Linked DNA regions of Homo sapiens: all the other regions are linked to region 2. Evidence: promoter capture Hi-C in human tissues and cell types (Jung and others, 2019). All regions are on one chromosome and are shown on one strand. Each heading gives the region's core, a stretch centred on a gene start or on the middle of the fragment in contact. The rest is flanking DNA. Distances are from core to core; before and after follow the strand shown.

Region 1 (2,700 bases), core at 6-2,505, 140 kb before region 2:
CTGCTGTGAACACGAGTGTGTGGATATATGCTCAATTCCAAGCCTCTGATTTTGCACCTTTGGTAATGAAGGAATCCCAAGGGAGGGTTGCAGAAGCTCCAGGGCAGGAGCCCTGATCAGGCAGCTCTCCGCTCTGCCCATGAGTCTCCAAAAGGTCCTCTAGGTATATGAGCCTGTCCCTAAGGGCCTGACCAACTTCTCGGTTAATAAGAAAAACTTTGCCAAGACTGCAGATGATTGCAGAAGCAGCAGCTCAACTCAGCATGTCCCTACCAGCTTTTTGATGCTTAAATCCTTCAGCCTGGGGGCCCAGCATGGTCTCCATTGTGAGGACTCAGTTGCAGATGCTACTCACTGCCCTTTGGAGAGACACTGTGGTAATAGACACTTGCCTTGATGTAGGAAACTGCCTGACTTGGAGCAAGACCTAGAGTGGAGGGCACCAGGGGCAGAAAGGGGATGAAAGATCTTGACTTTCAACGCTGCTTGGGAAAATGCATTTTCTCTGCTTCAATTGAGGGGACAAAAATTAAAGTTCAGTGCCTGATAAGGAAGAAGACTATGGTAAATATCCAAGGGTTTCAGGTGAAACCATGAGAGGCCACATCCTAGGAGTAAAAGTGAACTGGAAATAGACCATTTGCAGAAGCCCAGATTTGAATCTTTGAACTGAAAGAAAATAATGAACAATCTAGAATTCCATAGTCAGTAAAGATACTCCTCAAAAATGAAAGCAAAATAAAGACATTTTCAGAACATCAAAAAGAAAAAAAACTCAAAAATTTTAAAGATGAAAATGTTTCAGAGTGTGTTCTTTGTTCACAGTAAACAACTATAATAAAAATAGCTAAAAATAATTTTAATAACTCTAGCTGTCTGTAAATTTAACAATAAAAAAATCAAACAATAAATTTAAAAATAATTCATGGATTTTGAATTGAAAGATAATAACCATATGACATATCAACATTTCTGAGATGTTGCCATAAAAGGGCTTAGAGGGAAATTTATAGTCTTAAACCCATGTGTTAGCAGTATTTTGGGGACACCCAGAAGAGAGAAGATGGAGATTTGGCTGAACCCCTAGGATAGGGGGTCCCAGAGAAGTTAAATTGTTTAGAGAAAAGTCAGCTTTTGGAAAAAGCTAAATGATACACCAACAAGATCCAATAAAAAATAAACACTAAAATGAGTTCTTTGGAGGTAAGGGAGAATGATCCCAGGTGGAAGCAAAGTAATGTTGAAGGAATGGTGCACAGAAGAAGGGTAAATATAATTGATAAATCCCCATGAATATTAAACGTATAAAACCACTGTAATATTGTTTTACAGGCTATCAAATATGTAGAATTTAAGTACATGACAACAATAACATACAAGGTAGAAGTGGACAAAGGGGTAATAGTGCCCTAAGGTTTCCTCACCATCTTTGCAGTGGTATGTTGGGAGCAGGCCCCCCAAAATCTGTCCATAAACTGGCCCCAAAACTGGCCATAAACAAAATCTCTGCAGCACTGTAACATGTTCATAATGGCCCTAATGCCCGAGCTGGAAGGTTGTGGGTTTACAGGAATTAGGGCAAGGAACACCTGGCCCACCCAGGGTGGAAAACCACTTAAAGGCATTCTTAAGCCACAAATAATAGCATGAGTGATCTGTTTCTTAAGGGTGTGTTCCTGCTGCAGTTAACTAGCCCACCCTATTCCTTTAATTCGGCCCATCCCTTTGTTTCCCATAAGGGATACTCTTAGTTAATTTAATGTCTATAGAAATAATGCTAATGACTGGTTTGCTGTTAATAAATATGTGGGTAAATCTCTGTTTGTGGCTCTCAGCTCTGAAGGCTGTGAGACCCCTGATTTCCCGCTTCACACCTCTATATTTCTGTGTGTGTGTCTTTAATTCCTCTAGCGCCGCAGGGTTAGGGTCTCCCCGACCAAGCTGGTCTCAGCAAGTGGCACCCAATGTGGGACTCGAATCCGGATCGAAGGGTTGCCAGAGCAACCGTTGGAATGGAAAACTAGCTGGAGGACACCCGAGTACTCTTAAAGCAATCCCCATGGTGAGTAAGAAGGGGAGCTCAGAAGCATCAGGGTAACGGTGGGACAGTGTGGGGTCTGGTTCCTTTCACCTTGGAACTTTTTCACACTGATAATGAGGAGAACAAGAGTATAGTGAAGTAACAGAAGAGGTTACAGAGCATGTTTATTTGCCAGCTAAAGCGGCAAAGGAAGGAAAGTTTCATCCCTACCCTTCTGCACCCCCTCCTTATTATTTTGAAGAAAATGAACCCCCAGATCTTTCTTTTCTGGAGGACACTGGGTGAAAAGTAGTTGCCCCAGTGACTGTTTGAGCAGTGCCTCGAGCAACCAGTCTTAGTTCTATTCAGGCAGGAATTCAGCAAGCTAGACGAGAGGGTGATTTAGAGGCTTGGCAGTTCCCTGTTAGAATACACCCCCCAGATCAACAGGGAAATATTACAGCTACATTTGAGCCTTTTCTTTTTAAATTACTCAAAGAAATAAAACAAGCTATAAATCAGTATGGACCAGGTTCTCCTTTTGGAATGGGACTGTTAAAGAATGTTACTATTTCAAGTCAGATGATTCCTACTGACTGGGACACTCTTACTTCAGCTTGTCTAACTCCTGCTCAGTTCTTAAAATTTAAAACTTGGTGGGCATGGGTGCAGCACACCAA
Region 2 (2,700 bases), core at 84-2,583:
ACTTCCAAGGTTCCAGCATGAATATTAGCAGCCACCATTACTGGACCAGATGCCCCTCTGAGGGTTGCATCAGGCTTTTAATTCTCCTGAGAGGAGGCAGCAAATGAGCAAGGAGGAAAATTCCTCTGTACCAGCATTGGAATCCTGAGGATGGCAGTGAGGAATCCACCCCAGGAGGCAGAGAACCAGCCAGAGCCTTGCACAGAGTCTTTCCAGAGCTTAAGCTCTGTGCGGTACTAGAGTCCCTCTGCCTTTCTTTCAGGCTCTTGGTGCTGAGAAAGGAAGAGCAATGCTCCTTCTCTCTCTAAACCAGAAGTTCTCCACTAGGAGGGCATTTTAATTGTTCATGCCTGAAGCCCAGATGAACTGTGCATTCCTGACCACATTTAATGATTTCATCAAAAAGGCAAGCATTTTAGGATAAAGGTCCATTGAGGAAGAGTGTAAATTGGCCTTCAGTTCATTAAGTGCAGACAGAGCAAGGAGCCCAGAGAAGGTGGAGATCAGAGAACTAACCTTTCACGGTGGCCTCTCAGGGCTGATGGTGTTCTTTATTGCCCTCGAATTCTCACTGTTCTCTCTCTGTCTGCCTGTCTCTCTCTCTCTCTGTCTCTCTCTCTCTGTCTGTCTGTCTCTCTCTGTCTCTCTCTCTCTCTCCCTCTGTGTGTCCTTGCTTTTCCATTTTCATTTTATGACCTGGAAATGTTTATCAGTCTCTTTGGTTATTTTCTCTTCTTGTCAGCTTCATCTCCTTAGAAGTCCTTATTTTGAAGTCACTCTTCAGTTATACAATGTCTTAAAAATCATGAAGATTGAAAAATATATTTTGCATGTGAATAGACATTTACCTAATTTAAAAAAAATTTTAAGTTCAATGTTTTCCAAAACTAAAACTACCGTAATTGGTTGTGGACTACCTGACTATGGACTGCTGATGGTGAACCAAGTCTCCTAGACTAGACATCTTGGTCCCTCACTTAGGGGCAGATGGAGAAGGACAGGCCAGAAGAGGATGTGGTCACCAACCTTTCTGTCCATGCTATCCTCCCTCCATGAACTCAGGACGCGCAACAGCCTGTAGGCATGCTCCTCCTTGCTCTGCACGTTGAAAGTGTTCAAGGCAAACTCCACTGTGGCGAGGAACATAGGATCCTGGACTATTTTATTATTACCACCCATTTCCTCTTCAGAACACCAGGCATAAGTCACCAGGAGCTGGAAGCCCATGAGAAGCAGTGACAGTGCCCAGGGCATAGCCTTCCTCCTCTGCGGACTCGACATGATGCAGGCTCCAGCAGCCCTTGCCTTTGCCCTTCAGATCCCTGGCGTCCACTGGAGCCTTCCAGGGCTCAGGTCTGGCCTTTAAATTCACCTGCTGGGGCAGAAACTCCTCCCTCCAGGCCTCACCTCTGCAGTTACACCCTGTCTCTCCCACACATGGCCTCCCTTCTTCCAAAGGCGTTTAAATCATCTCCTGTTTAGGGGAGAGGAACAGCACCCAGGCAGGTGGGTTGGAAAAGACTAGCAATGGGAGAGATAGTGCCCTGAACATGAGGCCCAGCCCCAGCTGCCCCAGCACCTCCGCAGGCTAAAGGAGACCTCTACTGGGCGCCCCAGAGTCAGAGCCCGGCACAGGAACACAAGTGTGAGAGGTATGAGTGGAAGGTGAGCCCTGGACTCAGCAGTGGGGGTGGGCTGGGAGGGGGAGGTTAGGTGGAAAGGCAGAGACAAAAGGATGGAAAGGGATGACAGTGGATGCTAGTATCATGGGTGAGCAGGTACAGCGCCCCGAGAAAGCACTGGGCCTCTTGAGAGAGAGGCGGGGAGCCCGGGAGGATTGGCGGGATGTCCTGCAGGTGTCTGCTCCCCCGAGGGTCTCGGGAGGGGGGCACCAGCCTGGGGGTCGTGGGCAGAGGTTGAGGAAATCAAGAGCAGGAGCCCCCAACCCTGTTCTCTGCACCTCCCTAAATGCAGCTTCCCAGCCCAGGGACGCGCTGCCAAGTGCTGGTACTAGGGGCCTGGCTAGTTATGGCTGCCCCTATTCCTCAAAGGTGTTTCCAGGACGGGTGGCCGCTTGCAATTGGAGCAGTGGAGAACCAGAAAGACGAAGATGCCCTCAGGGATGGCTGAAGTGCACCCATTAGGTTGTCACGGGTTCCCTCCTGTGGCCACAGCCGGCACAGCACTCTGCGGCACAGTTTGTGGGTGGAGATTCTGAGTTCTCGACCAAGACCCACATAGCCTCCAACTCCAACCGCAAATGGGGCTCTCAAAAGACTGAATAATGCACTCTTCACAGACCAGACTTAAGCTTTGTCCCTGTGAAATATGCCTTTGATGTTTATCCGTAGCTCCTTGTAAACTTCAGAAGCAACCAGCATCCCCTGATGTCACGTTAAAAAGCAAGTTCCTAGTTTCCCCACCCAAAGATTCTGACCCAGTAGCTGTGAGCAGGGCCAGGGAAACTACATTTCTCACCAGCTTCCAGAGGATGGTTGTGTTCCCGGTCTCAGAACCATACTTTGAGTGGTGCAGGTTCAGAATACTTCCTGGGAAGTGCATACAGACCAAACCACATATGAGAAGTAACTCAGCTTGAGGGGCATGGAGGTCAGGGGATGAGAATGGCTTTTGTGGGGCACACAGGATGGGGGACAGGCTTAGACAGCATGCCTGGTGATAAAGAATAAGAGTTTGTTT
Region 3 (2,751 bases), core at 37-2,536, 220 kb before region 2:
GGCCAAGGCAGGCGAACCACTTGAGGTCAAGAGTTCAAGACCAGCCTGGTCAACATGGCGAAACCTTGTCTGTACTAAAAATACAAAAATTAGCCAGGTGTGGTGGCAAGCACCTGTAGTCCCAGCTACTTGGGAGGCTGAGACAGGAGAATTGCTTGAACCTGGGAGGCAAAGGTTGCAGTGAGACAAGATTGCGCCATTAAACTGGCACGCCTGGGCGACAGAGCAAGACTCGGTCTCAAAAAAAAAAAAAAAAAAAAAAAGGAAGCTGAAAAAGTACTTGAAGAAATAACTGCTAAATGATTCTCAAATTTGACAAGAAACATAAACCTACAGATTCTGTAAGTTTAGGGAAACTCAAATAGCTTAAAACCAAATATATCTATCCAAGCCACATTATAATTAAACTTTTGAAACTAAAAGAAAAAAATTATGAAAGTGTCTAGAGAATAACACCTTTTTTATAGGGGAAAACAAGTTGAATGACAGCAGACTTCTTATCAAAAACAATGGAGGCCGACTAGGCGTTGTGGCTCATGCCTGTAATCCCAGCACTTTGGGAGGCTGAGGTGGGTGGATCACTTGATGTCAGAAGTTTGTAAAACCATGGAAGCCATAAAGTGCACATTTTTGAAACTAAAGGAAAAGAACAATCAACTTAGAATTATACTCCCAGGAAAACTATGTTTCAGAAATGAAGGCAAAATCAAAACGTTTCCAGATAGGGGAAAACTAAGAAAATTTGTTGTCAGCAGACCTACCCTAAAAAAATGACAAAAGGAGGTTCTCTAAATAGAAAGGAAACAATAATCTTGGAACATCCAGAAGAAAGAACATGGTAAGCAAAAATATGGGTAAATATAACAGGCTTTCTTTCTTGAGTTTTCTAAATTATGTTTGATGGCTGAAACAAAAATTCTAACATTGACTCATGTGGTTCTAAATGTATGCAGAGGAAACATTAAGACAACTATATATTGAATAGGGGGAGTAAAAGAACAGAAAGGGAGGTAAGATTTCTATATTTCACCAGAACTTATAAAATGATGACACCAACCTACAGCATTTAACCACAAAAGCTACACAAAGATATATACCATTGATTCTCCAACAACACTGGTTTAAACTGTGTGAATCCACTTATATACGGATTTTTTTCAACCAAATGTGGATTGAAAATACAGTATTCTTAGGAATTCAACACCCATATAAATGAAAGGCAGACTTTTTTATATGTGAGTTCCACAGGGCCGACTGTGGGACTTGACTATGCACAGATTTTGATATATGAGAGAGGTCCTGGAACTAATCCCCTGTAGACACTGAGGAATAACTGTACTTAGAAACACTGGAAAATCAAGTAGGCTGGGTGTGGTGGCTCACACCTATAATCCTGGCACTTTGGGGGACCGAGGTGGGCAGATGACTTGAGCTCAGGAGCTCAAGACCAGCCTGGGCAACATGGCAAAACCCCATCGCTACAAAAAGACTTGAGCTCAGGAGTTCAAGACCAGCCTGGACAACATGGCAAAACCCCATCGCTACAAAAAATAGCCAGGTGTGGTGGTGCATGTCTGTAGTCTCAGCTATTCTGGAGGCTAAGGCTGAGGTGGGAGGACTGCTTGAGGTTGGGAGGTGGAGGCTGCAGTGAGCCAGGGTCGCACCATTTCCCTCCAGCCTGGGTGACAGAGTGAGACCCAGTCTCAAAAAAAAAGAAAGAAAGAAAAAAAAGAAAAGCAACCCATAAAAAGGTTGGAAAAAGAAAACAGAGAAACAAAAAGCAAAGAATAGAAAGCAAAAACTAAAATGGCAGAAAGCAGAATTAAGCCCTAACATATAAATAACTGCATTAAATGTGAATGACCTAAATACACCAATTGAAAAACAAAGATTGGCACAGTGGATTAAAAAACAGGATCCAGGCTGGCTGTGGTGGATCATGCCTGCAATCCCAGCACTTTGGGAGGCCAAGGCGGGTGTATCACCGAGGTCAGGAGTATGAAACCAGCCTGGCCAACATGGTGAAATCCTGTCTCTACTAAAAATACAAAAATTAGCCGGGCATGCTGGCACGCACCTGTAATCTCAGCTACTCGGGAGGCTGAGGCAGGAGAATTACTTGAATCCAAGAGGTAGAGGTTGCAGTGAGCCAAAATCACTCCACTGCGCTCCAGTGTAGGAGACAGAGCAAGACTCTGTCTCAAAACAAACAAACAAAAAAAAACAAGATCCAACTACAAGAAACTCACTTCAGTTATAATGATATAGACAGGCTGAAAGAAAAAGAATGGACAAACATATCATATAAACATTAATCAAAAGAAACCAGGCAGGGCTATAAAGTGGATAAAGTAGACTTGAGCCAAGAAAATTACCAGAGACAGAGAAGGACATTATGTAATGATAAAAGGGTCTCTCCAGCAAGAATAGCAATCCAGAGCTGCAAAGTATGTGACGCAAAGACTGACACAATGAAAGAAGAGTCAGACAAATCCACAACTAAAGTTGGAGATTTTAACACCCAACTCTCAACAATGGATAGAATTAGAAAGAAAATCAAAGGCCAATCGCAGTGGCTCACACCTGTAATCCTGGCACTTTGGGAGGACAAGGCAGGCAGATCATTTGAGGCCAGGAATTCGAGACCAGCCTAGCCAACATGGCACACACCTGTAATCCCAGCTACTCGGGAGGCTGAGGCACGAAAATAGTTTGAACCTGGGAGGTGGAGGGTTGCAGTGAGCTGAGATC

What was found. Contacts are between HindIII fragments. The study calls those that stand out against the background at their distance.
Region 1: a contact is called between a fragment that was not itself captured here and the fragment with the promoter of CST9 in region 2, in 2 of the 25 tissues and cell types used here (mesendoderm cells and thymus).
Region 3: a fragment that was not itself captured here is called in contact with the fragment with the promoter of CST9 in region 2 in 2 of the 25 tissues and cell types used here (bladder and dorsolateral prefrontal cortex).

Annotation. Positions count from the first base shown.
Region 1 is chr20:23,465,485-23,468,184 of GRCh38, forward strand. No RefSeq gene overlaps it. Among named protein-coding and RNA genes, the nearest start is that of CST11, 14 kb to the left of the region's middle. The HindIII fragment of the contact is 8,919 bases long and covers 1-2,700 here.
Region 2 is chr20:23,604,584-23,607,283 of GRCh38, forward strand. It overlaps CST9 (cystatin 9), which reads right to left and starts at 1,334. Exons shown (of 2, transcript NM_001008693.3): 1 at 1,027-1,334. The coding sequence starts at 1,281. The HindIII fragment of the contact is 5,555 bases long and covers 1-2,700 here.
Region 3 is chr20:23,382,917-23,385,667 of GRCh38, forward strand. All of the region lies in intron 7 of NAPB (NSF attachment protein beta), which reads right to left. Among named protein-coding and RNA genes, the nearest start is that of GZF1, 22 kb to the left of the region's middle. The HindIII fragment of the contact is 8,963 bases long and covers 1-2,751 here.